Linked DNA regions of Homo sapiens: all the other regions are linked to region 2. The links are contacts of gene promoters, found by promoter capture Hi-C in blood cells and fetal thymus (Javierre and others, 2016). All regions are on one chromosome and are shown on one strand. Each heading gives the region's core, a stretch centred on a gene start or on the middle of the fragment in contact. The rest is flanking DNA. Distances are from core to core; before and after follow the strand shown. Region 1 overlaps TARBP1 (tRNA guanosine 2 -O-methyltransferase TARBP1). Region 2 holds the start of TOMM20 (translocase of outer mitochondrial membrane 20). Region 3 overlaps TARBP1 (tRNA guanosine 2 -O-methyltransferase TARBP1). Region 4 overlaps LYST (lysosomal trafficking regulator). Region 5 holds the start of LINC02768 (long intergenic non-protein coding RNA 2768). Region 6 overlaps TARBP1 (tRNA guanosine 2 -O-methyltransferase TARBP1). Region 7 has its middle 3.1 kb from the start of COA6.

Region 1 (3,690 bases), core at 4-2,503, 670 kb after region 2:
ATAAAATAATAAATGTGCTTGTAATAAAATAATACATATGATCTCTCTAAATAGTCCTTGGCTGGCACTGGGACCTTGGATTTTGGGAGGATTTACACTATCCTAACTGCTAAGAGTGGCTTATTGTATCTAAAGTGTTTGTTCAATGTGGTTTATGCTGAAAACCTGCTTTCTTTCTGAGAGTCTGGAATTTCAGTATGTATGAGGCAAAAGGTGCCTGCATGACCACGTCCCAGGAAAAGCCCGAGGCACTGAGTCTCCATTGAGCTTCCCTGGTAGACAGACTTTCACTGTGTTGTCACAGCTTGTTGCTGGGGGAGCTAAGTGTGTCCTGGGTGGCCCACTGGGAGAGGACTCTTGGAGCGTATGCCTTGTTCCCTCTCTACATTTCCCCTCATCTTCCCCTGTATCGACATTCAAGGAATATATATGGTGTGTATCCTGTGCTTTTTACAAAGCCTCAGTAAATATTGCTTACTACAGGGGTCAGCAAACTCTTTCTGTGCAGTGCCAGGTAGCAAACTTTTTTAAAGCTTTGCCGCTGGCTTTATGATCTGTGTTGCAACTTCTGAACTAAATAAACAGGCGTTGGCTATATTCCAAAAAAACTATTTACAAAACAGGCTGTGAATAGTTTTTGCCAATGCCTGGCCTAGATAGAGCCAAGGTATCTTATTTCAAGATGTACAACCTTAAGGGAATGAAAGACCTAGGTGGTTTTCTGAGTCAGGGGCTCATTTTTATGGCATTGAAAATAATCACTTTTTTTTTTTGAGACAGAGTTTTGCTCTTGTCTCCCAGACTAGAGTGCAATGGCACGATCTTGGCTCACTGCAACCTCCACCTCCCAGGTTCAAGTGATTCTCCTGCCTCAGCCTCCCAAGTAGCTGGGATTACAGGCATCTGCCACCACAACTGGCTAATTTTTGTATTTTTAGTAGAGATGGGGTTTTGCCATATTAGCCAGGCTGGTCTCGAACTCCTGACCTCAGGTGATCCACCCACCTCGGGCTCCCAATGTGCTGGGATTACAGGCGTGAGCCACCGCGCCTGTCCTCACATTTTGATTGAAAGTAATTTCTTCTTATAGAATGGTGTTTTTTTTTTTTTTAAGATTGTGACTGTCTTTAAGATAGTAACCTCAATTTTAAGTTAACATGGTATCTTTATGTTAAAAGTTGAATAATATTTTCTTTTTATTTGCTTTCTTTTGATTTAGCTAATGATATTTGCTTTCTTTTGATTTAGCTAATGATAACCTACTTTAAGTAGTAGAATTGATTGCCTTCACAGTGGTTTTAGTTTATTCAATTAAACATTTTAATACGAGTAATTTTTAAAACCTTTCCTGCCCTGCCCAGGAGAAAGTGTCACTTTCTGATGTCTCAACTTTTCTCATGTCTCTGAGACAAGAGGAATCCTTAGGACGAGGAACTTCATTGTGGACAGAGGTGAGATTAAAGATAATTTAATAAAGTCTTTGAAAACTATAAAAAATGGTTTTCTTAATGAATTTCTTAGTAGCCATTTATATAAAATATAATGATTGCTTTGTTATCTGTCAGCAGAGACTTTGAAATATTGTATATTTGCTTTGAGTGGACTTAACTAATTCTGCTAAGATGCTTATGGAGAGGTGGGAGAGAGGAAAATGTTTGCAGTACAGATAGACCTATTTAGAAGAAAAGATATTGCTAGTGGGCAGATCTCAACTCTGGATGAGATGCATTAGGAATAATGGCGATGTTAGACTCAAACACAGTAAGTGACACAAACTCCTCTTTCTCTTTTTTCTGTCATTGAATGGCCCCTTCCTCCACCCAGTTGTCCAGTCCTTATGTTTTGGTAATTCTGAGTTTGTCCTGACTTTCTGCATCCAATTCATCATGAAACCCTCCTGTCTCATAAACATCTTTCCTCTTCTCCATGCCGCTCTGTGGCTCTAGCTCAGACCCTCCTCATGTGAAGCTTCTTCCCTTGTGATGATGTCTTGTTGATGTCACGTCCCTGGCCTCCAGACCTCTTACTGTGCCACCCTTTTCCTCAGGACTCTTCAGGGCCAGCCTCCTCCCTCTTTTTGTAAACCACGGGGTTTAGTTTATACAACTGACTTCAGTGCTTATTTGTTATTTATGTGGCTGAGTTCTGATCTTTGTCCCCTCTGGGTTATATAGTTTTTGAGAAATGAAGAAGGGGCAAATTGTGGCCTTTAAAAAATAGAATTTTGTTTTATTTTCTTGATCACAATGCATCTAATTTTGTGGAATTTGAAAAATATAGAACCATATAAAGAAAATAAAAATAATCTGTAATGCCTACCGTCAAACTAAATTCATATTTTTTGGTTTAGTTTTTAGTTCTTTTTCCCTATGAATATACGTATTCTCTTACTTGCCTTCTCATTATAGATAAGTATATGTGTATTTAAAATAATACATATGATCTCTCTAAATATAGATTAAACTGTTTTAAATTTTATTTTTTTGTATTCACATATATATGAGCATTTTAGCATGTTGCTAAGTAATTTTTCAAGATGTAGTAAAAATGCAGTTGATTGTATCATTTAAAATTTATTGTATTAGTTCCTTTTCTTGGACTTTGTTTCAAAGTTTTTGCTTTTATAAATAACACTGGGCTGGGCACAGTGGCACTTTGGGAGGCTGAGGCGGGCAGATCACTTGAGGCCAGGAGTTCGAGACCAGCCTGGCCAGCATGGCGAAACCCCGTCTCTACTAAAAGTACAAAAATTATCGGGGCATGGTGGTGTGTGCCTGTAGTCTCAGCTACTTGGGAGGCTGAGACAGGAGAATTGCTTGAATCCGGGAGGCGGAGGTTGCAGTGAGCTGAGATCGTGCCACTGCACTCCAGCGTGCACGACAGAGTGAGACCCTGTCTCAAAAAGTAAATAACATTGGGAGGAACTTATTTCTATATGTTTTTATTTATACCTGTTTTTTAGGATAAATTCATAAAATTGAATTTGCTGTATTTCAATAATTTTAAGGTTCCTGATACAGATTGAGAGAGGTTTCAAAGTATGACAGTGGACATCCACTTTATCTACAGTGATACAATACCAAATGTATCAGCATGTTAAATTCTTTGCCACTTTGGTAGATAAAACATAGCATTTGGTGACTTTATTTGCATTACTCTGATCACTGTTTTTTAAAACATTTTTTCATGTCTTTGTAGTATTTCTTTTGTGAATTGTCTATTATTGTCCTTTCCCCATTTTGTTTTGGGATTTTAGTGGTTTTTTTTTCTTTTTTACTTGATTTGTAAGTGCTCTTTTTATATTGAGGGTATTGACAAGTTGTTATACCTACTGCAAATAATTTTTTTTTAGTTCCTTTTTAAAAAATTTAGCTTTGCTTGCTGAATGGGTAATGAATTTACGTGATTTGAAGATTAAAACTATTGGTCAGAAGTGTCTTATTTCTGTTTTGCTCTTCTATCTTGCCTTGATCCTTATCGTACTCCACCCCATCCCCAAACAAAGGTGTTTTTGATATAGACTCTGCTTACTACCTTGCAAGTTTTCATTAAAATGTATATTCATAGTGATTTCTTTATCTCAGTAGGCAAAGACCCTTCTTAGTCTTTTTTTGTAAAGTAAAGCTTGCATAGTATTTTGTAAAGTAAAGCTTGCATAGTATTCCATCTGGTGGTTGTACCATTGTTTAT
Region 2 (3,520 bases), core at 1,012-3,511:
CACTTTGTTGCCCAGGCTGCTCTCAAACTGCTGGACTCAAGTGATCCTCCCACCTTGGCCTCCCAAAGTGCTAGGATTACAGGAGTGAATCACTCATCAATTCCAAGGGGCTAGAACTCCCAGGAACTGGGGACAAAGGCCAGCCAAATTCTTTATTATGCAACCTCGTGTTACTGGAAAAGGATCCAGATCCAGACCCCAACAAAGGGTTCTTGGATCTTGCCTAAGAAAGAATTTGGGGCCAGTCCACAGAGTAAAGTGAAAACAAGTTTATTAAGAAAATAAAGAAGATCACTCACGGTGGCTCATGCCTGTAATCCCAGCACTTCGGGAGGCCGAGGTGGGTGGATCACCAGATGTCAGGAGTTTGAGACTAGCCTGGCCAACATGGTGAAACCCCATCTCTACTAAAAATACAAAAATTTGCTGGGTGTGGTGGCACATGCCTGTAATCCGAGCTACTGGGGAGGCTGAGGCAGGAGAATCGCTTGAACCCAGGAGGTGGAGGTTATAGTGAGCCAAGATCATGCCACTGCACTCCAGCCTGGGTGACAGCAAGACTGTCTCAAAAAAAAAAAAAAAAAAAAAAAAAAGTGAAAGGTTACTTTGTAGAATGGTGCATACCCTAAAGCAAGAGAAGGAACATGTCCACCTTAGGTACAAGGCTTGTTTGTATTGAACAGCAAAAAAATGAGGAAGATGAGCTCTACTCCAAGAGCTTGTGACAAAGGATTTTTTGTGTGTTTGTTTTGAGACGAGGTCTTACCCTGTCACCCAGTTTGGACTGCAGTGGTACAATCATAACTCAACTGCAGCCTCAACCTCCTGGGATTAAGGGATACTTCCGCATCATTCCCCATGTAGTTGGGACCACAGGTGTGTGCCACCACGCCTGGCTAAGTTTTTAATTTTTTTGTGGAGACAGGGTCTCACCATGTTGCCCAGGCTGGTGTTGAACTCTTGGGCTCAAGCTATCCGCCCATCTGGGCCTCCCAAAGTGCTGGGATTACAGGTGTGAGACACTGCCTGGTCTTTGTCAAAGGACTGTTAATCCTGTGTAACTACTGTCTTCTGCAAGGATCAATATTATCTTTAAAGGGAAAATTAAACTAAGAATGCTTTTGTTCTTAAGATATCAGGACATCAGGACATTTCCTGGGTCTGTTAGGTAAACATTATTAACTTGTTCCCTTCCCTGTAAATATCCTGTGACCAAGAATGCCAAACTTCCTGGGAATGTGCCCCAATAGGTCTCAGCCTCATTTTACCCAGCCCCTATTCAAGGTAAGGTAGCTCTGGTTCCAATGTCTCTTGACACTGATGCTTGACTTCGATACCCCTCAACTTACAGTGTCTGTTTAATGCCTGCTTTCTGCCCACGATTTTCCTTGTCAATATCTTAAGTTAGATCATATATATATATATTTTGTTTTTTTGAGACGGACTCCTGATCTGTCACTCAGGCTGGAGTGCAGTGGCTCGATCTTGGCTCACTGCAACCTCTGCCTCCTGGTTCAAGCGATTCTCCCGCCTCAGCCTCCAGAGTAGCTGGGATTACAGGCCCCGGCCACCATGGCCAGCTAATTTTTGTATTTTTAGTAGAGACAGGGTTTCACTATGTTGGCCAGGCTGGTCTCAAACTCCTGGCCTTAAGTGATCCGCCTGCCTCGGCCTCCCAAAGTGTTGAGATTACAGGCGTGAGCCACCGCGCCTGGCCTGATCATGTGTATGTTTTCGTGTGGCTATAAAACAATTCACGTTTTCTATTTTTTCTTCAATTGTGTATATTTTTCAAGAAATTACTCCATTTAATTTTATTCCAGTTATCATAAAATGAGGCTATCCTGTAACATTCTTTTGAAATGGAACCACTACGCACAATGGATTGTGGCAACCTGAAAAGAAAGTACAGTTTAATTCAAACAAGTCACAGGCTGCCTGTGTTAGACAAGATGAAGCATTCGCAGTCTGGGACCCTGCATCTCTGTCTGCCACAAACAAGGCTGTCAGCTAGTCTTCTGAGTACGTGCACGCCAGTAACGCGTACGCCTCGTTACAGCATGGTCGGCGGATATGAAAAAAAGTCCGTGGTCACGTGCAAATTCCCGACTCCAGTGCGTACACCCAGCGGCGCAGGGGAAACGCCGGCTTCGCCCACTGCGCAGGCGCAGGAGCCGCGCTCTGGGCCTCTGCTCAGGCTCTGCCGCGGACGACCTCGAGGCCCTTAGTTGACTGGGACCGGAAGTGGCGTGTGCTCGGCCTTTCTGTGTTCCTGGCCCGCGGCCGTCGGGTGTGAGCTGCGCCGACCGCTCTGAGGGTTCGTGGCCCACCGCTCCTTCGCGGTCCCTGCCGCCACCGTCCACGCTCAGCGTTGTAGAGAAGATGGTGGGTCGGAACAGCGCCATCGCCGCCGGTGTATGCGGGGCCCTTTTCATTGGGTACTGCATCTACTTCGACCGCAAAAGACGAAGTGACCCCAACTTCAAGAACAGGCTTCGAGAACGTGAGTGGGTCCTCTCTCCCCTGGCCAGGCTTGCTGCCTTCGGCCGCCGCCCTTCACAGGAGGGGTCATTGCCTCCCACCAGCCTGTGGGCCGCGCAGGGCGACCGCGTGGTGCGGCCCTCAATAGGCGATGGCGCTGGCTGCGCCGCTCCGGGGGCTCTAGTGCCCCGTAGGAATTCCATTTTGGAGGAAGGATTTTTCCCGTTTTGTTTTCCCCAGACACTTTAGCCGTGCAAATGCACTCTTGATTTCTGTTGCAATCTCGGGTGTGTGTGGCCTGGGGAGGAGGTTGTCTCTTTTTTTGTCGTTCATCTTTTTAAACCTCTACTCTTAACTAAAAAGTCGTGCATTTTTGTCGCAAATTTTAGTCTGAGGCTAAATCCGCATGCTCAGTGCAGTATCATTGTTGCATTCTTTTTTTTGAGACGGAATCTCGCTCTGTCGCCCAGGCTGTAGTGCAGTGGCGCGATCTCGGCTCACTGCAACCTCCGCCTCCCGAGTTCAAGCGCTTCTCCTGCCTCAGTCTCCCCAGTAGCTGGGATTACAGTCGGGCGTCACCACGCCCGGTGATTTTTTGTGTTTAGTAGAGACGGGGTTTCACCGTGTTGGTCAGGCTAGTCTCGAACTCCTGACCTCAGATGATCCGCCTGGCTCATTGCTGCATTCTTAAACCCTCTTGGTAGCTTCGTTCTAAGTGCTTCCAAGATATGAGTGAATGCTATAGAAATTGCAGGGGAGTCCAAAGGGCTGCGCTTCTCCCGTGGCTCAGTCTTATTTCATACCTGCGACATCTTTTAAGAGAGGTCTACCAGAGGGGAATCGTGTCATGAAAACCGTTGTGATCCACCTTGAATTTTCGGAGAATCTTCATTCGCATCATTGAAGAGCAAATTTGTTGCAATAAGAAATATTTTTTGGCTTATCTTGGTTGTTCAGCCAAATTAGTTTTTGGAATTAAAATTGATACGTAAGTTACTAAAGCCCAAGGGGTACAAAGAAGGGATTATTGTTTACTTAA
Region 3 (3,732 bases), core at 439-2,938, 720 kb after region 2:
GCTTGCTCATTGTGTAAAATGAGCGGACATGAGAATTCACGAGCAGAGCTTTTTACACTGATATGTATGAAAGCATCATTTACGTCCTGAAAGCCCCAGCCGAGCGATCACTGGCAGTGCCAACATTTTTGAGTGTGGGCTCCATAGGAAGCACTGTTTTCCCTATTGAGAATTATAGTGGGTTTTTTTCATTTACGAGTAATGTATACCTAGCTCCAAGATCTTGGTTGCTAACACCATTCTCCAATAAAACGAACCAGGGATCGCTGGAGAAATAGCTGATTCTAAAACTAGGGCAGAAAGTATACAAGATGAGCCTGGAGCATCTTGTAGAGTCAGAGAGCAAGGCAGAACTTTATACATACAGTGATGTGAGATGGGCATGCAGAGGGAAGATGTTCCCAGTGGCTGAAGCTGAAACAGTGTGAGCAACAAAATAAAGCAGTGTTGGATCACAACCCAAAGAATAAAATAAATATCCTCGAGCCCACACCGATATAAATAAATGATTGAATCAATAAATGAGTCCAGGCACTGTGGCTCATGCCTGTAATCCTGCACTTTGGGAGGCCAAGGCGGGTGGATCACTTGAGGTCAGGAGTTCGAGACCAGCCTGGCCAACATGGTGAAACCCCGTCTCTACTAAAAATACAAAAATTAGCCAGGCATGGTGGTACATGCCTATAATCCCAGCTACTCAGGAGGTGAGGCAGGAGAATCACTTGAACCCGGGAGGCAGAAATTGCAATGAGCCAAGATTGCAGGACTGCACTCCAGCCTAGGCGACAGAGTGAGACTCCATCTCAAAAAAAAAAAAAAGGATGGACAAGACAAATCTCTTGTAAAAAAAATTACAAGTAATTTTTATAGAAGCTCTGCCCTGAGGGAGGGGGAGCGTGACTTCTCACTCCTTCAGTGTGGGCTGCACAAGTGACTTCCTTCCATATGGGATCGTTATAACAAAAGACTGTAACAAGGGCTATGGGAGTTATAAGACAGGAATTGTGGACAAAAACCAGTGTATATCATAACATCACACCTTGTAATGTTGGCAGTACAGTCACTGACCTTTGATAAATGTTGATGACATGTTGAGTAAAGGAATGAGAGAAAGAGGATTGTTTATCTCTGTTTTTATCCTTCTCAGAGAAACTTAGAGTAACAAGTGTGTTATCAGCCATGCTGATGCCTTTGGTAAACTATTGTGTGAATATGGTTGTTTTGAATTGGTCAGTAGAAACTGGGCTGCCAGGCGCAGCCGGTAAGCATTTCCATGTGAGCCTTAGGGGAGAAGTGCATTTGGTAGGAGCATCAAAATAGCTTCTGATATTTCATTAAAAGTTTGGGTCCGTCTGGTTCCTTCATTAGTATATGTCACTTCCTTTGACCTTCAGTGTCTGTTGAACCATGTGATTTTAGAAAGCAAGGGATTGCTTGACATCTCCAGGCTGTGAAGACTAAAGTTCACAGGAAAAGACTACAAGGAAATTTAAACAGTTTTATTATTTTCCCCCTCATTTCTTAATTTTCCTGCCACTACTCAGTACTGTGTGGGTCCAGGATCACCATTAGGGAAGACAGAGTAGCTCAGAAATCAGTAGTGAGGAGGAGGACAGCACTTTGTGTGGTATCTTGCTCTAGGAGCATTTTCAAGCCATCAGAAGTGGGACTCTTGAAGACTATTTCTGACTTTCTCAGCACAAATTAAGATAATAGGAGATGGAGGCTCCATTTGAAAAACATTTTGGTTGTATAATGGTTAGCATAAAACATACTTTTTTCAAGTTAACTCAGGTACTAGAGTATGGGGGGCGGGGGGAAATGTACTGCAGCATTAATGAAAACTAGAGCTGGGAGAATGTGTTTTTCCTTGAGTAAATTGCAAATGCCTGTGCACCGCATTTGACCAGGAGGGAAGAATGAGAGGCCCTGGTAGCAAAGCCAGTGGAAGAAGTTTTACTAGGAGCAGTTGTATCATTCGTGTACTTTTTTTGTGTCATACAAGTGAGAGTAAAATGGTCCATGTCTGTGTTTTGAGGAATTTTTTGCCTTTCTTTTCAGAAACTAATTCTGAAGCAAGCCCTTATAGTTGTGCTGCAGTGGTGTTTCAATCACAATTTTAGTGTTCGACTGTATGCTTTAGTTGCTCTTAAGAAACTCTGGACTGTGTGTAAAGTGTTAAGTGTTGAAGAATTTGATGCCCTGACTCCTGTGATTGAATCCAGCCTCCATCAAGTGGAAAGCATGCACGGAGCAGGGTAAGGAGCCCTCGTCAACCTCATCGCCCTCACTCTCCTCCAGCAGGGCCCACAGGGAGGGGGCAGTGCCCATACTGTGTCAGCTTCTCCTTCCACATCCTCATGCTGCCGTCCTGGAGCATCGAGGGCTTGGACTGGGCCAGGCCTAAGCAGCTCACTTTGGGGTGTAGTTAATTACAGTTCATTGTCAGCTCCACCTTGACCTCTTATTGCCCTTTTATCCTCAATCCTTTATTGTACAAATAATCTTCTACATACTTGTACCTGTTTCTCTTCAGTATAGCTAAATGTCATCCTTTGTTGTTTGAGAACTGCTTAGAAGTGGCACGACCTGACTTTAAAGACATACTTTTAATCTCTCAGCTATACTAGTTATAGCTAAAGGCTTTTTTCTTTTCTAAGAGAACTCTCCTATTCCGCAGACAAAATCATACATGGAAGCTCAGTATCAAGCAAGTGACGTGGATGGGGTGAGGGAGCGGTGCAGGACCCAGTGTCTGTGAAGCCCCCACGGTGGTTCCCATGTCTGCCTCTCTTTCCCCGCACCTGTCACGGTGCAGAAGCAGGCTGCAGTGTCATAAGCATCTCCAGGTCTCTGCGCTTGTTTCCTTATCTCTGAGGTGGTGCTGTTTTGCCTTTTTATTATTATCATAGATTATTGCCATCCAGGAATTCTGGATTTTTTTTTTAAATTTTAGAGACACAGGCAATATCAACCAACATAAAAGATTTTTCATCTTAAAAGCTGAAAAAGCACCCACTAATTTATATACACAAATGGTTAAGTGTTGGAAGCAGCATAATAGGCAAATGAAATAGCATTTGGAAAACCAGTAACATGTAGAAGTCTTGGTCGTGACCATTAAGTTATTTGTACATGGTACAAATAAGACTGAGTCATTGTGTAGCTTCATATGGGGCTGGGGCGAGGGTACCTCCCTGGCCCGCAATGTACCTTTCTACCTCCCTTCACTTTTGATGCATTTGTTGAAAAGAGGCATTTGGGCATTAAGTGGGTAAGGGAGGTTTTAGGGGCTTGGGAGAAAGATATTTGATAAATACAAATAAATACTAAAATGGAGAAAAAAGTAAATAGCATGAAATAAAACAGGGGAGTAGCAGGAGAAAAAGAGAGTTAGCTGTGGGGAGATGGGTTCCAGAGGAGGGACAGAGAGCAGAGGCGGGAATGGATTCCTGGTACATCGTGCACAGTTCTGTATACTGGAGAATGACCTTCCTGTGCCTGGCCCAGCAAAGGCTGGTCATCAAAATTAGTCATTCACTGTAGCATTGCCAGGGACCCCTACAATTCCAACTGTCCTCTGAAAACTAAAAATCTTGATCTTTTCAAGGGACCTTAAATGTCTTATTTCTCCTTGGTGTATGGTGTATTTCCTATTATTTGGTGAATACATGGCTGAGTTTACATGTGTAGATTTGAACATTAATATTTCTCAGGATCGCATTTGCATTA
Region 4 (4,134 bases), core at 1,513-4,012, 660 kb before region 2:
CCCTATTAGACAGTCCCCATTTCCTTTTCTTTCTCTCTCTTTTTTTTTGAGACAGTTTCACTCTTGTTGCCCAGGCTAGAGTGCAATGGCGCGATCTCGGCTCACTGCAACCTCCGCCTCCCAGGTTCAAGCGATTCTCCTGCCTCAGCCTCCCGAATAGCTGGGATTCAGGCGCCAGCAATCACACCTGGCTAATTTTATATTTTTAGTAGCGATGGTGTTTCACCATGTTGGCCAGGCTGGTCTCAAACTCCTGACCTCAGGTGATCTGCCCACCTCAGCTTCCCAAAGTGCTAGGACTGCAGGTGTGAGCCACCACACCCGGCTAATTTTGTATTTTTAGTAGAGACAGCGGTTTCTCCCTGTTGGTCAGGCTGGTCGCAAACTTCTTTCTCTCTTTTATTTCAAGTTCTCCTTCTCATGCCATGTCTTACCTCAGTGGCCCTCCCCTAGTTCCTGTCACAGAATGTTTAAATGCATCAGCCATTCTCCAACATTAGAATAAATTTCATTCCAGTTCCTTCTTTAACTGAAGAATTGCTATTATACTGCATCTTGTTTCTCATATGACTAGGGCAGAAAAAAAACTGTTCATTGAAAAGCAATTTATGGTGATGGAAAGTGAAGTAGGTAGGATAATTCTTAGGGCCTGTGGAATGAATGAAATGACTGGATGAGACAGATGTTTAGGGTTTTATATGTACATGGAGATGCAGGCCTCAGTAGCTCTTCATTCCACAAATCTTTCTCATCCAGTGGAACCTCTGTTTTAGGACACTATGCCTTCACTAGAATTTTCTGTTGTGGATTGAATTTTGCCACCTAAGAACTGATAGCTCTACATGTGATAATATTTATTATGCTATCTAATGTGCATTGAGTGCTTTCTGTGTATGTGTCACTTTGCTCAGCTGGTTCTATATACATTTTTAATCTTAACAAGTTAGTAAGTGCTCATACTATCTGTATTTTTAGAGGAAGTTAAGTAGCATGACCAAGTTATGTAGCTGGTAAGTGATGGAAAGGAATTGAAACCCACCTGTTTTTAATTCCAGAGCCTTAACATTGCTACTATACTATAAGCTATGCAGATTGCTTTCTCATGTTTTAATGGAGGCAATCTCAATGTAAACAGTCTCTTATAAAATGAATAAATATACATAGTGACCTGAGAAAAGTAAATATTGGAAAGTTTTTTCTTAATTTTTATTTTAAGGATATATTAGAAAACATATTTTAGAAAGATGATTTTGTATAAACACTTAAAAATAGTAGACATATATAAAAAGTTTTGAAGAGAGATAAAGAATATTTTGCTGCGATATCATACCTTTTACCTCTAAACTAACTGGTGCCTTTGGGCAAATTAACCTCTCAGCACCTCAATTTTGTCACCCTATATATATTTACCTTATAAGATGGTTGTGAGCATTAAGTTAAATATTTGTAATATTACTACTCTATAATTCCTAGGTACACACTGGTTTTGTCCTACTCTTTTATTTGCAGAAGTTCATATTTGGTATGGAACATTTTTAAAATTTCACATCAGATGTGAGTTCTCTGTATATCATATATCTTGGTCAGCAGCCTCAAAATAATCAGTGACCTTAACTCTTCTTTTTTAAAACTATTGTCATCGCTACAGGGAGTATTTTTTTAACATCGGTCATGGTTTTACCTGTTGAAAAATAGCAACTAATATGTATGCAGTCTAATAAGCAGTAGTGTTCTTTAAAAGTCTGAGCCTTTGGACATGTATTTTGGATTTTGATATATCATAACATAGCTTTACATAAAGTCACATGTATTATAATGACAAGTAGATCATCATACATCTTCAGGCAGTGCTGGGTTTTCAAAGATGAGGAAGAGGAGTCAAGATAAATAACCAGATAGCCCAAGCCTGTAAGCATTTACCCTAGCTTGCCTTAAAGAAACATTAGAGTTTCAGAATCACTTAGCAATTATATGCAAAAACTACTCACCAGGGAATATAAATTATGAATATATTCAAACACTAGAGTTTTTCCTTAAAATTTGTAATATGATATTTTTTTTTAAATCATGCCATATTGTGATAATTCTAGAATGAGTTTTGGTAGTGTGAGGCATGGACAATGATGTGTGCTCCCTGGACCAGGGTCAGTGAAGTCATAGTTGATAAAAGAAGCTTGGTACACATTGTAATAGGTTGTCACATAGCGGTCTGGTTACGCCCACAATTGTCCTCAGTTATTATACATTTTTTAATATCTAATAACTTTTAAAGTACTGAATTACCATTTTTCATCCCTCGTGCTTTTTTGGAGTTAACATCTATACTCTGAAAATATGGTTGTTTAGAACAGGTCAGGCTCAGACATTCTGGGTAGATAACCTACTACAAATGAACAAATTTGCTTTGTATTCTTCTAAATTCACTTTTCTACTCAGTTGTTACGAACCATTTTACTGATCATTCTAACATCTTTTTCTTATAGAGAGCGACAGACCAGAAGGTGCAGAGTACATAAATCCTGGTGAAAGACTCATAGAAGAAGGATGTATTCATATAATTTCACTGGGATCCAAAGCGTTGATGATCCAAGTGTGGGCTGATCCCCACAATGCCACTCTTATCTTTCGGTATTGATTATCCTCAGCCTCCCATGAATAGATAATGTATTTAAATAATTTGTGTAAGAGACATTAATGTGAAATCTACTAATAAAAGTTCATTATAGCAAAACAAAAAGTCTCATTTAAAAATATATACATTCTAACAGCTATTAATACCACTTTTATAATAGTGTATTATTCTATCCAAAAATCCATAAAGTCTAAAATATATTAATTCTCGGCTGGGTGTGGTGGCTCATGCCTGTAATCCCAGCACTTTGGGAGGCCAAGGCAGGCAGATCACCTGAGGTCAGGAGTTTGAGACCAGCCTGGCCAACATAGTGAAACCCAATCTCTACAAAAAATAAAAATAAAAACAAAAAAACAAAAAACCACAAAAATTAGCCAGGCATGATGGTGCATGCCTGTAGTCCCAGCTACTTGGGAGGCTGAAGCAGGAGTATCACTTGAATCTGGGAGGCAGAGGTTGTAGTGATCCCAGATCGCGCCACTGCACTCCAGTCTGGGTGACAGAGTGAGACTCTGTCTCAAAAAATAAATAAATAAATAAAAACAAAAAATAAATGAGTAAATAAAATACATTAATTCTCTGTTTGATTTTAGATCAAATACTGAAGTCTTATGCTATGGAAATATTCTATCAGATTGTAATGGTCTTAAGATGTTATTAACAGACATAAGTTTTCCATGTGCATTATATATTTAATAGCGATTACCTAATAAGCTTGGGTTCTCCTTGTTATCTTGTCCTTTTATACTATCTCCTTTATTAAGTAGTATAGATACAGGTCTTTTATTTGTATTGAGTATGAATAGTATGATACTATTTGTCTAAAACTCAAATCTAAACAAACCAGTATGTTATTTAGGAATATATACTTTGTAAACGTTACAAACATTACTAGGTGCCTTATGTACATTATCTCCTCATTCTTTCAGTAATCCCACAAAGTAGATTAGACCTCCAATACTTAGACATTTATATTAATTTTTCTATGAACCAAATAATACATTGTAATTTCTAAATGGGCAATGGCTATATAAATAGTAATAATATATATTTTTTTACAAACTGAATTCTGAACATTATTGCCTAAATTATGACTACCAGCCAATGAGCCTAATCTATTTTAGTTCATGAATTGAGGTAATGATAGAATAACTAAGTAACTTATGGTATAAAACGAAGACCTACTGACTTTTCAAGCACTTTAAAAAAAATAGAACTGATTTTTAATCTTACTTATTTAGAATTATAGTTACTATATGTATGTTAAACACTGAGGTCAGAATTTTCATGTTTTCAGCCTATGCCTTTTCTCTTTTTCTGTAGTGTGTGCATGGATTCAAATGATGACATGAAAGCTGTTTTACTAGCACAGGTTGAATCACAGGAGAATATTTTCCTCCCAAGCAAATGGCAACATTTAGTACTCACCTACTTACAGCAGCCCCAAGGGAAAAGGAGGATTCATGGGAAAATCTCCATATGGGTCTCTGGACAGAGGTAGG
Region 5 (4,095 bases), core at 1,547-4,046, 840 kb before region 2:
TTGGACATATCAAAAGCACCAGCAACGAAAGAAAAAAACAGGTAAGCTGGACTTCATCAAAATTAACATTTTTGCATCAAAGGATACTATCAAGAGAGTAAAAAGACAACCCATGGAATGGGAGAAAATATTTGCAAACTCTATATGTGATAAGGAATTAATATTCAGAATATAACTACATTTCAACAACAAAAGCAAACAATTTAAAAATGAGTAAAGGATTTGAATAAACATTTATATGAAGAAGATATACAAATGGCCAATAAGCATATGAAAAGATGCTCAATATCATTAGTCATTAGGTAAATGCAAATAAAAACCACAATTTGACACCAGTTTACAGTATTAAGATGGCTTTTATCAAAACAAAACAAAACAAAACAAGTACTGGAGAGCATCTGGAAACGTTGTCCGTTGCTGATGGGAATGAAAACAGACAGCTTGGTGGTTCCTCAAAAAGTTGAATATAGAATTACTATATGATCCAGCAGTTCCACTCCTAGGACTATACCCAAAATAATAGAAAACAAGGGCTGGAACAGATGCTTCTGTGTTACTGTCCATTGCAATATCATTCACTGTAGCCAAAAGATGGAAACAACCCAAGTGTCCATCAACAGATGAATGGATAAACAAAATACGTTATGTACATAAAATGGAATATCACTGAGCCTAACAAATGAAATCCTGATACATGCTACAACACAGATGAACCGTCAGGACATTATGCTGTGGGAAATAAGCCAGACACAAACTATCAAGCAATATATGCGCTTCCATTTATATGAGGTATCTAGAATGTACCAATTCATGGAGACTGAAAGTAGATCAAAGGTTACCGGGGGCTGTGGGGAGGTGGAATGGAGAGTTATTGCTCGATGGCTACAGAATTCTTACCTGGGAAAATGAAAAGTATTGGAAATAGTGGTGATGGTTGCACAATATTGCGAATGTAATAAATGTCAGTGACTTGTACACTTAAGAATTATTAATGGCTGGGCACGGTGGCTCACGCCTGTAATCCCAGCACTTTGGGAGGCCAAGACGGGCGGATCACAAGGTCAGGAGATCAAGACCATCCTCGCCAACATGGTGAAACCCCGTCTCTACTAAAATGTAAAAAATTAGCCGGGTGCGGTGGTGCGCACCTGTAGTCCCAGCTACTCAGGAGGCTGAGGTAGAGGAATCGCTTGAACCCGGGAGGCGGAGGTTGCAGTGAGCTGAGATCGTGCCATTGCACTCCAGCCTGGCAACAGAGCAAGATTCTGTCTCAAAAAAAAAAATTATTAACATGGCAAATTTCATGATATATACATATTTTACAATTTTTAAAATTAATAATGTAATATACCCAAAACCATTGCAGGTACACTTTGGGTGAATTACATAGCATGTGAATTATATCTCAATAAAGCTGTTTTGGGTGGGCACAGTGGCTCACATCTGTAATCTCAGCACTTTAGGAGGCTGAGGCAGGAGGACAACTTGAGGCCAGTAATTTGAGACCAGCCTGGGCAATATAGTGAGACCCCCATCTCTACAAAATCTTTTAAAAATTAGCCGGGTGTAGTGGCAAGTGCCTGTAGTCCTAGCTACTCAGGAGGCTGAGGCAGGAGGATTGCTTGAGCCCGGGAGTTTGAGGTTACAGTGAGCTATGATCATGCCGCTGCACTCCAGCCTGGGCCACAGAGCAAGACCCTGTCAAATAAATAAATAAGCTGTTTTTTAAAAATCACTGTAATTAAAAACAAAAACTCCTGGATACCTAAGGTTGGCAAAATGCTGATCGTTGTTGTGGCTGGCCGAATTCTAAAGATTTCAAGATTCTAATTTTGTACTGCTCTGAAGGGACTTTGCAGATGGAATTTAGATGACTAAGTAGCTGACGTTAAAACAGGCAAATTATCCTGGGTTATCCAGGCAGGCCCTTAAAAACAGAGGAGGGAGGCAGAAGAGTCAGAGAGATAAGGCAGAAACAGAAAGCGGGAGAGGAGAGGGTGAAGGGGGAGAGGGACTATTTACACTTCCCTTTAGGTTACAGGCACAGAGAAACCTTTAGGCTGAACTTAAAATATGTGAGTAGCTTTAAGCTAAACTTGATTTAACAGGGAAAAACAGGACTTTGCAAAAATTCTTTTAGGGAGTGTACTATCGAGCACATTTGAAGACCACAGGTCTCGAAAGCGGGGAAGACGGGACCCAGAGTCCCCCGCAGCAGCGTCACGGCCCAGCTCTGGTTCTCAAGTTGGGCTGCTGTTTTTCCCCTTTTTCTCATCCGCCAGGATGCCAGGCGCTGCTGAAAGCTGCAGCCGAAAGGATTTAGAATTCCTTACAACGGAGAAAGGGTCTTTGCTCAGACAACATGGACTTAAGAGACGGAAGGGCCAAAAAGGCTTGAAAACAGGCTCGAAGAGCGGCTTCCTGGTAGCTAGAAGCTTAAGTGGGGACAGATGAGCTTAACTGGCAAGCCTGCGTGTGTGCTCTCCAGCCCCCGTGATTCAGTTTAAATCTGGGCGGGTCTCCTCAAAGACAGTTCCAGAAGGGGCCACGTGAGGGCAGTAAGAGCCTCTCAATGCCTGTTTTTGGGGGAAGAGAGAAGTGAGGGCGGAGCGCGGGGAGCGTCCCAGGCCTGGCTACCCGGATAACTTCCCCAAAAGAAGCTATGCTCGGGCCTTCCCATCGTCCCACTCAAGAGCTTTCTTCATATTGGTGAGTTGCCCAACTGCTAGCAAAAGAACTTCCCAATTATGGTCAAGCCTCTTCATCTAAATTCAGATTTCCACCAAATAGCCCAGCCCTTTTCCTCCCCAAGTCATCTCCTTACTCAAACATTTGCAGACATTCGTCACACGAGATCCCCAGCCGTGGGCTCAGCATCTTACACCGAGGTACGAAAACACAGAAGTATTCCTGAGTGTATTCTGTGTATGCAAAAGTGCATACGTCTCCTTATGGACCAGGTTCTGAGTGAATCTAAGTGGAAAACACGGAATAGCAGGCTAATTCCAGAAAATGCAGGGCTTTTGCAAATAAGTGGGCGTCTAGTCACTAAGCAGGTAGTAATAACAGGTGATGCTAAATGATTGCTTCGAACCACTTTGTTAAGGGGATCAGAGAAGGGAGAAGGCTCAGGAGAGAGAGTGCAGCAAGAAGCTTTTATTAGCTGGATGGAAATGGGAAAACTAACTCAGGATAACCTTATGTAGTAGAATTTATTGTGCCCATTGAGTAAGTCAGGAAACTGAGGGTTAAGGAGGTGAAGTAACTTGGCAAAGGTCACGCCGTCAGAGCAGAGTCCAGTTCCAGATTTGGTTTACTCTAAATACCCTTCCTCACCCCCCTTTTTAAGAAATACCTTAAATGAAAATTTATTTTTACTTTATCTTACATTATTATTTATTTGTATTCAGCACATTTTCATTTAGAAAGTTGGAAAATAAAGGCACAAGAAAAACAAATAACAGTAATTTCATTACTCAATAATGGCCTCATCACTACAATCTTGTCCAGAAATGTTGTAAACACACACACACAATACTTTTACATATATTTTTGTAAGATATATATATAACAAAAAATGTGATCCTGTGATACTTTTCCGTATTTTTGTTTTCCATTTAAATAAATGTGCATATGAACATTACTTTGATCAACTACATAATAGTATCATACTCTATTATATGGACAATAAACTCTCACCAGTTCATTTATTGATGAACTTTTAGGGTGTTTCTATGTGTTTTTTGATGTGATAAATAACAATAAACCAATAAACACCCACATACTAATATCAGTGTCCTTTTTTTTTTTTTTTTTTTTTTTTTGAGAGTCACGCTCTGTTGCCCAGGCTGGAGTGCAGTGGTGCAATCTCAGCTCACTGCAACCTCCGCCTCCCGGGTTCAACAATTCTCCTGCCTCAGCCTCCCGAGCAGCTGCGACCACAGGCATGTGCCACCATGCCCAGCTAATTTTTTATATTTGTAGTAGGGATGTGGTTTCACCATGTTATCCAGGATGGTCTCAATCTCCTGACCTCATGATTCACCCGCCTCGGCCTCCCAAAGTGCTGGGATTACAGGCATGAGCCACCACGCC
Region 6 (3,594 bases), core at 506-3,005, 690 kb after region 2:
GATTGTCCTGCCTCAGCCTCCCGAGTAGCTGAGATTACAGGCATGCACCACCATGCCTGGCTAATTTTGTATTTTTATTAGAAACAGGGTTTCTGCATGTTGGTCAGGCTGGTCTCAAACTCCCAACCTTAGCTGATCCGCCTGCCTCGACCTCCCAAAGTGCTAGGATTACAGGCATGAGCCATTGTGCCCAGCCCCAAACCATAATTTTTATTCTGGCTTGAACTTTTGCCCACAGTTTGTATATTGTGACAGGGTGTTAAATTCAGAGATGTGGCAGTGACCAGGGAATGTGCCTTGAGGGTGAGATAGAGGCTGTTCTGTATTGCGGTAATTAAGAGGAGCCACTGGGGTAGGGATGATAATATTGGATACCTTGAAGGCAGCTACTTTTCTTCAAGTCTTTTTGTTCTCTCTTCTCCAAGGCCTAAGCTTTCCCTTGAAATCTCAAATTTATTTTAATTGAATGGGTTTGATTATATATGAGGAAAGTAAATCTATTTTATGCTATTAATGTAAGTTTGATATTTAAGGAGTTGACTATATATATAGGAGAAAGAAAAGGCAGAAAGAGTAGTATGGAATATGCAAGACAAGAGTATTCTGTTTTTCCCATATTCATTGGTTATAGTTTTTAATTTTTTAATAAAGGCTTTTACTTTCCAATCATTTGCTGGTGGCTTCTTGACCTGGCAAGTGACTCATGAGATACTCCAGAGGCTATATAATATAGCCCCTGGGTAACATGAAAATTTAAAATTAATTTTTAATGTATGTAATCTCTTAATGAACACTTCTCAGAGTGATAGATACAGCATTTTATGAAGTGTCTATTAAATCTTCTGCCAAGTTAGTCCTTTGTCAGATATGTGGTTTGCACATATTTTCTTTTTGTCTGCAGCTTATCTTTTCATTTTCTCAACAGTGTCTTTTGCAGAGCCAAAGTTTTTATTCTGATGAAATCCAGTTTATTTTTGTTTTGTTTTATGGATCGTGCAGTAGGTATTACGACTGAGAACTCTGCCTTAGCCCCAGGTCGTACAGGATTTTTCTCCTTCGTTTATTATTTTACTTTTAGACTTATGATATTTTTAGGGTTAATTTCTAAGGTGTAAGGTTTAGGTCAAGGTTAGTTTTTTTTGCCTTTGCTGGTGTAGTTGCACCAGCACCATTTGTTGGAGAGACTGAGTATCCTTTCTCTGTTGAATTGTTTTGTACTTTTGTCAAAAATTAATTGGCTGTGATGGAAACAATCCAAAGTAGATGGGTAGATGAATGGATAATATGTGGTTTATACATACTCAGCCATAAAAAGGAATGAAGTAGTAATACATGTTACAACGTGGATAAACCTTGAAAACATTATCTTAAGGGAAAGGTGATCACTAAAGACCACATATTATATGATCTCATTTAAATGAAATGTCCGGAATAGGCAAATCTCTAGAGACAGAAAATAGATTGGGGTTGCTTAGGGCAGGGAGAAAATAGGGGTTAAGGGCCCGATGATTTAAAGGGTATGAGGTTTCTCTTTGAGGTGATGAAATGTTCTAATATTGATTGTGGTGATAGTTGCACATATCTGTGACTGTACGAGAAACTATTGAATTAGATACCTTTAATGGGGGAATTGAATGCTCTGTGAATTCTATCCCAAAAAATTGTTGACAAATAATTAATTTGGCTGTATTTGTGTTGATGTAATTCTGGACTCTATTCTGTTCTTTTGATCTAAGTGTTTATTCCTTTGCCAATACCACAAGGTTTTGGTTACTGTAGTTTTATAATAAGTCTTAAAATAGGTAGTGTGGTTTTTGTCCAAAAATATTTTTAGCTATTCTAGTTCCTTTACCTTTCCATATAAATTATATCATCAACTTATATGTACCTACAAAAAAAAAGTCCTGCTGGGATCTTGACTGGAATTGCATTAAATGCATAGATCAGTTTGTGGAGAATTGCTTTCTTATGCTGAAACTTTTAATGCATGAATATGGTATTTCCTTACATTTATTTATTTAGAGACAGGATCTTACTTTGTCACCCAGGCTGGAGTACAGTGGTGCAATCTCAGCTCACTGCAGCCTCTACCTCCCATGTTCAAGCAATCCTGCTGCCTCAGCCCCCCAAGTAGCTGGGACTGCAGGTGCTCACCACCATGCCTGGTTAATCTTTGTATTTTTAGTAGAGATGGGGTTTTGCCGTGTTGTCCAGGCTGGTCTCAAACTCCTGACCTCAGGCGATCTGCCCACCTAAGCCTCCCAGAGTGCTGGGATTACAGGTATGAGCCACCACGCCTGGCCTGTCTCTGCATTTACTTAGGTTGTCTGTGATTTTTTTCATCAGTTTTACAGTTTTCAGCGTATAGATCTTACACAGGTTTTGTAAGATTTATAACTATTTCTTTTGAGGGGAAGCTGTTGTAAATGATAGTTTTAAAATTTCAATTTTTAACTGTGTGTTACTAGTATATAGAAATATGATTGATTTTGGTATGCTGACCTTGTATCCTGTAACCTTGCTGAAGGACGTAATTCTAGGAGTTGGTTTGTTTGAAGGTTCCTTGGGATTTTCTTTGTAGATAATCATGTCATCTGTGAATAGGGGCAGTAGAATTGTCTGTAGTATTCCCTTACCCTTTTAATGCCTGTCGGGTCTGTAGTGTAAGCTCTGTCTTTTTATTCCTAATAGTGATAATTTGTGTGTGTGTGTGTGCGTGCTTACTCATGTGCACTCTCTCTCTGTCTCTGTCTCTGGCTTGCTAGTGGTTTATCATTTTATTGACCTTTTCAAAGAACCAGCTTTTGGTTTCATTGATTTTTTTTTTATAGATTTTTTTTTTTGGTCAATTTCATTGATTTCTGTTGTTTGGTTCTTTCTGCTTGGGTTTGGTTTATTTTGCCTTTTTTTCCTTTTAGTGTTAAGGCAGAAACATAGATTGTTGATTTTAGACGTTTCTTGTTTTCTGAAATGACAGTGCTATTAATTTTCCTCCAAGTGTTGCTTTAACTATATCCCACAAATTTTGGCATGTTGCATTTTCATCTCAAAATATTTTCTAACTTTCCTTGAAGCTTTCTCTTTGACCCATGAATTATTTAGAACATCTTTGGAGACTTTCCTAGTTACTGCTTTCTAATTTAATTACATTGTGGTCGCAGAGCATATATCATATGATTTCAGTTTTTAAAATTGTTTTAAGTTTATGTGGGATATGGCCTATCTTGGTGAATGTTTCATGTACTCTGGAAAAGAATATTATTTTACTAGTGGCTGACGTGTTCAATAAATGTCAGTTATATCCAAGAGTTTTCATGGTGTTTTTTAGTTCCATATCCTTGCTGATTTTCTATTTATTCCTTGTATCTATTACTGAGAGAGGAACTTTGAAATCTCTGTTGCCCAGGCTGGAGTGCAATGGTGTGATCTTGGCTCACTGCAACCTCTGCCTCCCGGGTTCAAGCGATTCTCCTGCCTCAGTTTACCGAGTAGCTGGGATTACAGGTGCCCACCATCATGCCTGGCTAATTTTTGTATTTTTAGTAGAAATGAGGTTTCACCATGTTGGCCATGTTAGTCTCGAACTCTTGACCT
Region 7 (3,900 bases), core at 1,298-3,797, 760 kb after region 2:
AATGCCTGGTCATATTGGGTAATTTTAACAGGACTTTCTCACTAATCGTTAAGACTAGCAAGAGAAAAGTTAAGGATATAGGAAACGTGAATAACATGATGTAAAAATGACGCAATTAATATGTACAGAACAACACGACCAAAATCAGAATGTACAGTTTTTTGAAAGCAGACACATCACCACAGTCAACCACATACTTAGTTATAAAGCAACTCAAGAAATTTTGAAAATTGAAATAATTGTCATTTTTTACTACAGTGCATTTAAGATAGAAATCAATAAAGAACTGTAAAAACAAGCCTGAATAACACAGAGACAGAGTCAATGGTATTGAGAAAATATTTTGAACTGAACCATAAAATAACAATAGCAACACCTGTGGGATGAAACTGAAGCAGCACTTACAGGGACATTTATAGCCATAAGTAAGTGTATTAGAAGAGTCTGAAAAGTCTTGAGCTGAAAATCCCTTTTCAAGAAGTTAGAAAAAGGACAGCAAAATAAGACAGAAAATAGAAGGACAGAAATAATGTTAAGAGCAGAAATTAACGAAATGGAAAATAAAAGCAGTGGTGTACCAGAGCCAGCCTGTACTGGCATAGGAGAGCCAATTGTGCACACCTCTTGGCAACTCCATGATCAATAACATCAAATAAGTAGCTTGAAGTCACCCACGATGGGACTGTTTACACTATGGAACTCAACAAACAAGCCAGGATTTTGTTTTATGTTTGGAGCCAATTCAAATAAGTAGCTTGAAGTCAACCATGATGGGACTGTTTACACTATGGAAATCAACAAGCCAGGATTTTATGTTTGGAGCTAACTCACTAGCACACCACAGCATAGAATAGGTTGAAAGAAGCCAAAAGTTGATTTTTTTTGGAAAAGAAAAATTAAAATTGGCAAACATCTAATAGCTATAAAAGGAGGGATGTCAACAATCTTTATCAAGAATGGAAACTAGAAATACTATAGACATCAAAAAAGTTAGATAATCTTGTAAACAATTTAGTGCAAATAAGATTTAGATGACTGTACAAACTTCAAGAAAAACAACTCAAAAGTAGAGAAACTATTACATAATTTGAATGAGTAGTGAAGAATCTTCATACACACAAATCCCAGGTACGTGGCTCCACCAGTAAGTTCCTACAAACTTTGAAATCATTCCATTCTTACTGAATAAGGCTACCATAACTTTTGTACTAATTATAAAATCCCCAAACCTCTGAAACACCACACACTTTGGAACTCATTTGGTGAAAAATACGACTTAAAGTAACATGAGGCTCTTTATAGTTGTTATTATCACTTAGGTGACTGCATATGCTTTTCGGTAGAAATATTAATGTATTTCATTATGGGTACTGTCCCAGTTCTTGTTGAGAATATTATACAATATATGTTGTATGTTTCATACTACCCTTCTAATATTTAAAATAGTCTATATTTCAAACATCTGGCTCCAGGGATTTCAGGTGAGTTATGTGGACCTATATAAGAAAAAATCTTTATGACTTAGGTTAAGAGGAATTTTTAGCCATAAAGGAAAGTCTCAGTAATTATCAAATGATGTGGCCGGGTGCGGTGGCTCACGCCTGTAGTCCCAGCACTTTGGGAGGCTGAGGCAGACGGATCATGAGGTAAGGAGTTCGAGACCAGCCTGGCCAACATGGTGAAACCCCGTCTCTAATAAAGATACAAAAAATTAGCCGGATATGGTGGTGTGTGCCTGTAATCCCAGCTACTCAGGAGGCTGATGCAGGAGAATTGCTTGAACTCAGGAGGCGGAGGTTGCAGTGAGCTGAGATCATGCCATTGCACTCCAGCCTGGGTAACAGGGAGAGACTTCGTCAAAAAAAAAAAAAAAAAAAAAAAAAAAAAGATGTGTTACATACATAAAAATATTGGGCTACATAAAAGTAATGGACTTTTGTTTACCAAACAATACCATGAAGCAAGTGAAAAAGGATTAGTATCCAGAATATACAAATAACACAAATCAATAAGAAATAGACTTGCCCATTTTGAAAATGGGCAAAAAGCTTAAATAGGCACAGCACCAAATGCAAATGACTAATACATGAAAGGACCAACATTCCCATTAGTAACTATAGAAAGGAACATGAAAATAACAATGCAGTACTATTAGACACCCAGCAGATCAAAAAATAATTTAAAAGTCTGACAGAAACAAGTTTTAAGGAAGAAGCAAGGAATATCCTCATACACTGTGGTAGCATAAGTTGATACAATCAGGGAAAACAGTGTGGCATTATCTAGTAAGATTGAATTATCTAGTAAGATTGAAGATACACATTCACTGTGACTCAGCAACTCTACAGAATTTCCTGTACATATGCATTTTTTTAATAGCTGAAACCATTATGCAACTCAAACTTGTATCAACAATAGAATGGATAAATTATGGTATAGTCATACTGTGAAATATAATACAGCAACAAAGAGAAACAAACGATTATTTACAATAACATGGTGAATTGCCATACTGAGACAACCAATGAATACAGAATATTTCCACTTACATAAAGTTCAAAAACGGGCAGAACTCTACTATATTGTTTAAAATAACAGTCATAAGTAGTAAAACTATACAGAAAAGCTAAGAAATGATTATCACAAATGTTCCTCTCTAGGGTAAGAAAGGAGATATGATCAGGGAGGGGCACATGGTGGGGCTCCTGGGATGCGGAGAATGTTTTATTTATGGACCTGAGTGTTCGCTTTATAATTATTCTTTAAATAAACTGTACATATATGTTTTATTCACTTTTCCATAGGAATGTATATCTCACAATTTCTAAACAAATAAAATGAGTAATTGACCTGAGGAAGGTCATCTTTAATAAATTTGATTTACAGAAAGGTAAAAATAGTGGTCACACAGAATATTTGTAGTGTTATTACTAAATTTTTAATGAATTTAGTATCTTAAGTGCTCTTCGAGGTCAAAAGTTAGTGGTCTCTAGTGCTAAATGCCACCGTGCACCTAAGCAATTCCTAGTGGTCTGTGGTAAGCTTAAGGGATAGACAAGGAAGATATTACCAGAGAGATGTAGTGAGTTGCAATAACATTCCCCACCTTACCCCTGAAGAAGTCTAGTTCGCCAGTTGGGAAATGCTGGTTTTACTAACAGAGCAAAAACAAACTAGAAGAGAGGAATTTTGTGGTGTCAATAAGAAAAAGAAAATTAACACAGGATAACAATTGCAAAGACCATTTCACCTTACAAAATCTTAAAGATTAAAATGGAACAATGTGGGTGCCATAAAATGATTTCAAGTGTGCTGTTTTGACACAAAGAGGGTGTAATCACCCAGCCTATGTTTGGAGGAGAGAGGAGGCGAGGAGGAGTCAGTGTGAAGAGGTGGAAGACGTGTTGTGCTGGGTTGCCATCCAGAGGAAATTTTGAGTGGGTGCTCTCTAGTCGGAACGAAGTAGATCCCCAAACCACTGGTGGGCAGGGCCAGACAGACCCAGTCGCACTGAAAATGTATGTGTTGTTTTTCTGTTGCTGCCCACAGACTTTTATTTATAATCTGTACTGTTACAAAGCAGTTATCACAGACACCTACTCACGGGCACAGACCGGAGAACGATTCCCTTGACTTCAGTGTTGCTACAGCGATCTTCTGAATTTCTTCTAGATCTCTGTGCTGTCTCCTTGCCTTCCTCAACCCCCTTAACTATAGGTATACGCCAAGATGCTGTCCCTTCATTTCTCTCTCTCTCTTGCTCTCCTCTCTCTCTCTCTGCATTGTTTTAGTTGGTGAGTCAATTCACTCTGATAGTTTCAGTTAGCACTTCTGTCACAAAGACTTGCAAGACTATGTTTTGGTCCTTAAAAGAACCTTTGTGACAGTTTTCTTGTTCCA

The links. Contacts are between HindIII fragments. The CHiCAGO score rates a contact against its expected background, and 5 or more counts as called.
Region 1: a contact is called between a fragment that was not itself captured here and the fragment with the promoter of TOMM20 in region 2, in 5 of 17 cell types (total CD4 T cells, erythroblasts, naive CD8 T cells and 2 more). The highest score is 8.4, in total CD4 T cells.
Region 3: a fragment that was not itself captured here is called in contact with the fragment with the promoter of TOMM20 in region 2 in 4 of 17 cell types (neutrophils, erythroblasts, naive CD4 T cells and 1 more); the score reaches 11.1 in neutrophils.
Region 4: a contact is called between a fragment that was not itself captured here and the fragment with the promoter of TOMM20 in region 2, in 1 of 17 cell types (monocytes). The highest score is 6.0, in monocytes.
Region 5: a fragment that was not itself captured here is called in contact with the fragment with the promoter of TOMM20 in region 2 in 1 of 17 cell types (fetal thymus); the score reaches 5.4 in fetal thymus.
Region 6: a contact is called between a fragment that was not itself captured here and the fragment with the promoter of TOMM20 in region 2, in 4 of 17 cell types (erythroblasts, M1 macrophages, M2 macrophages and 1 more). The highest score is 7.4, in erythroblasts.
Region 7: a contact is called between a fragment that was not itself captured here and the fragment with the promoter of TOMM20 in region 2, in 2 of 17 cell types (neutrophils and erythroblasts). The highest score is 9.4, in neutrophils.

What each region holds. Positions count from the first base shown.
Region 1 is chr1:234,455,428-234,459,117 of GRCh38, reverse strand. It overlaps TARBP1 (tRNA guanosine 2 -O-methyltransferase TARBP1), which reads left to right. Exons shown (of 30, transcript NM_005646.4): 9 at 1,362-1,451. Among named protein-coding and RNA genes, the nearest start is that of TARBP1, 22 kb to the left of the region's middle. The HindIII fragment of the contact is 1,435 bases long and covers 536-1,970 here.
Region 2 is chr1:235,127,578-235,131,097 of GRCh38, reverse strand. TOMM20 (translocase of outer mitochondrial membrane 20) reads left to right here and starts at 2,261. Exons shown (of 5, transcript NM_014765.3): 1 at 2,261-2,503. The coding sequence starts at 2,383. SNORA14B (small nucleolar RNA, H/ACA box 14B) reads left to right here and starts at 3,161; the gene lies at 3,161-3,295. LOC105379283 (a long non-coding RNA gene) reads left to right here and starts at 2,897. Exons shown (of 2, transcript XR_949295.4): 1 at 2,897-3,469. RefSeq lists enhancers at 1,984-2,083, 2,314-2,533. The HindIII fragment of the contact is 4,902 bases long and covers 1-3,520 here.
Region 3 is chr1:234,404,429-234,408,160 of GRCh38, reverse strand. TARBP1 (tRNA guanosine 2 -O-methyltransferase TARBP1) reads left to right here. Exons shown (of 30, transcript NM_005646.4): 24 at 2,062-2,258. Among named protein-coding and RNA genes, the nearest start is that of COA6-AS1, 33 kb to the right of the region's middle. The HindIII fragment of the contact is 6,487 bases long and covers 1-3,732 here.
Region 4 is chr1:235,787,195-235,791,328 of GRCh38, reverse strand. LYST (lysosomal trafficking regulator) reads left to right here. Exons shown (of 53, transcript NM_000081.4): 13 at 2,484-2,628; 14 at 3,956-4,129. Among named protein-coding and RNA genes, the nearest start is that of MIR1537, 64 kb to the left of the region's middle. The HindIII fragment of the contact is 1,173 bases long and covers 2,176-3,348 here.
Region 5 is chr1:235,970,375-235,974,469 of GRCh38, reverse strand. It overlaps LINC02768 (long intergenic non-protein coding RNA 2768), which reads left to right and starts at 1,959. Exons shown (of 3, transcript NR_183724.1): 1 at 1,959-2,709. RefSeq lists an enhancer at 2,371-2,420. The HindIII fragment of the contact is 718 bases long and covers 2,438-3,155 here.
Region 6 is chr1:234,439,611-234,443,204 of GRCh38, reverse strand. All of the region lies in intron 12 of TARBP1 (tRNA guanosine 2 -O-methyltransferase TARBP1), which reads left to right. Among named protein-coding and RNA genes, the nearest start is that of TARBP1, 38 kb to the left of the region's middle. The HindIII fragment of the contact is 2,642 bases long and covers 435-3,076 here.
Region 7 is chr1:234,368,400-234,372,299 of GRCh38, reverse strand. No RefSeq gene overlaps it. Among named protein-coding and RNA genes, the nearest start is that of COA6, 3.1 kb to the left of the region's middle. The HindIII fragment of the contact is 994 bases long and covers 2,051-3,044 here.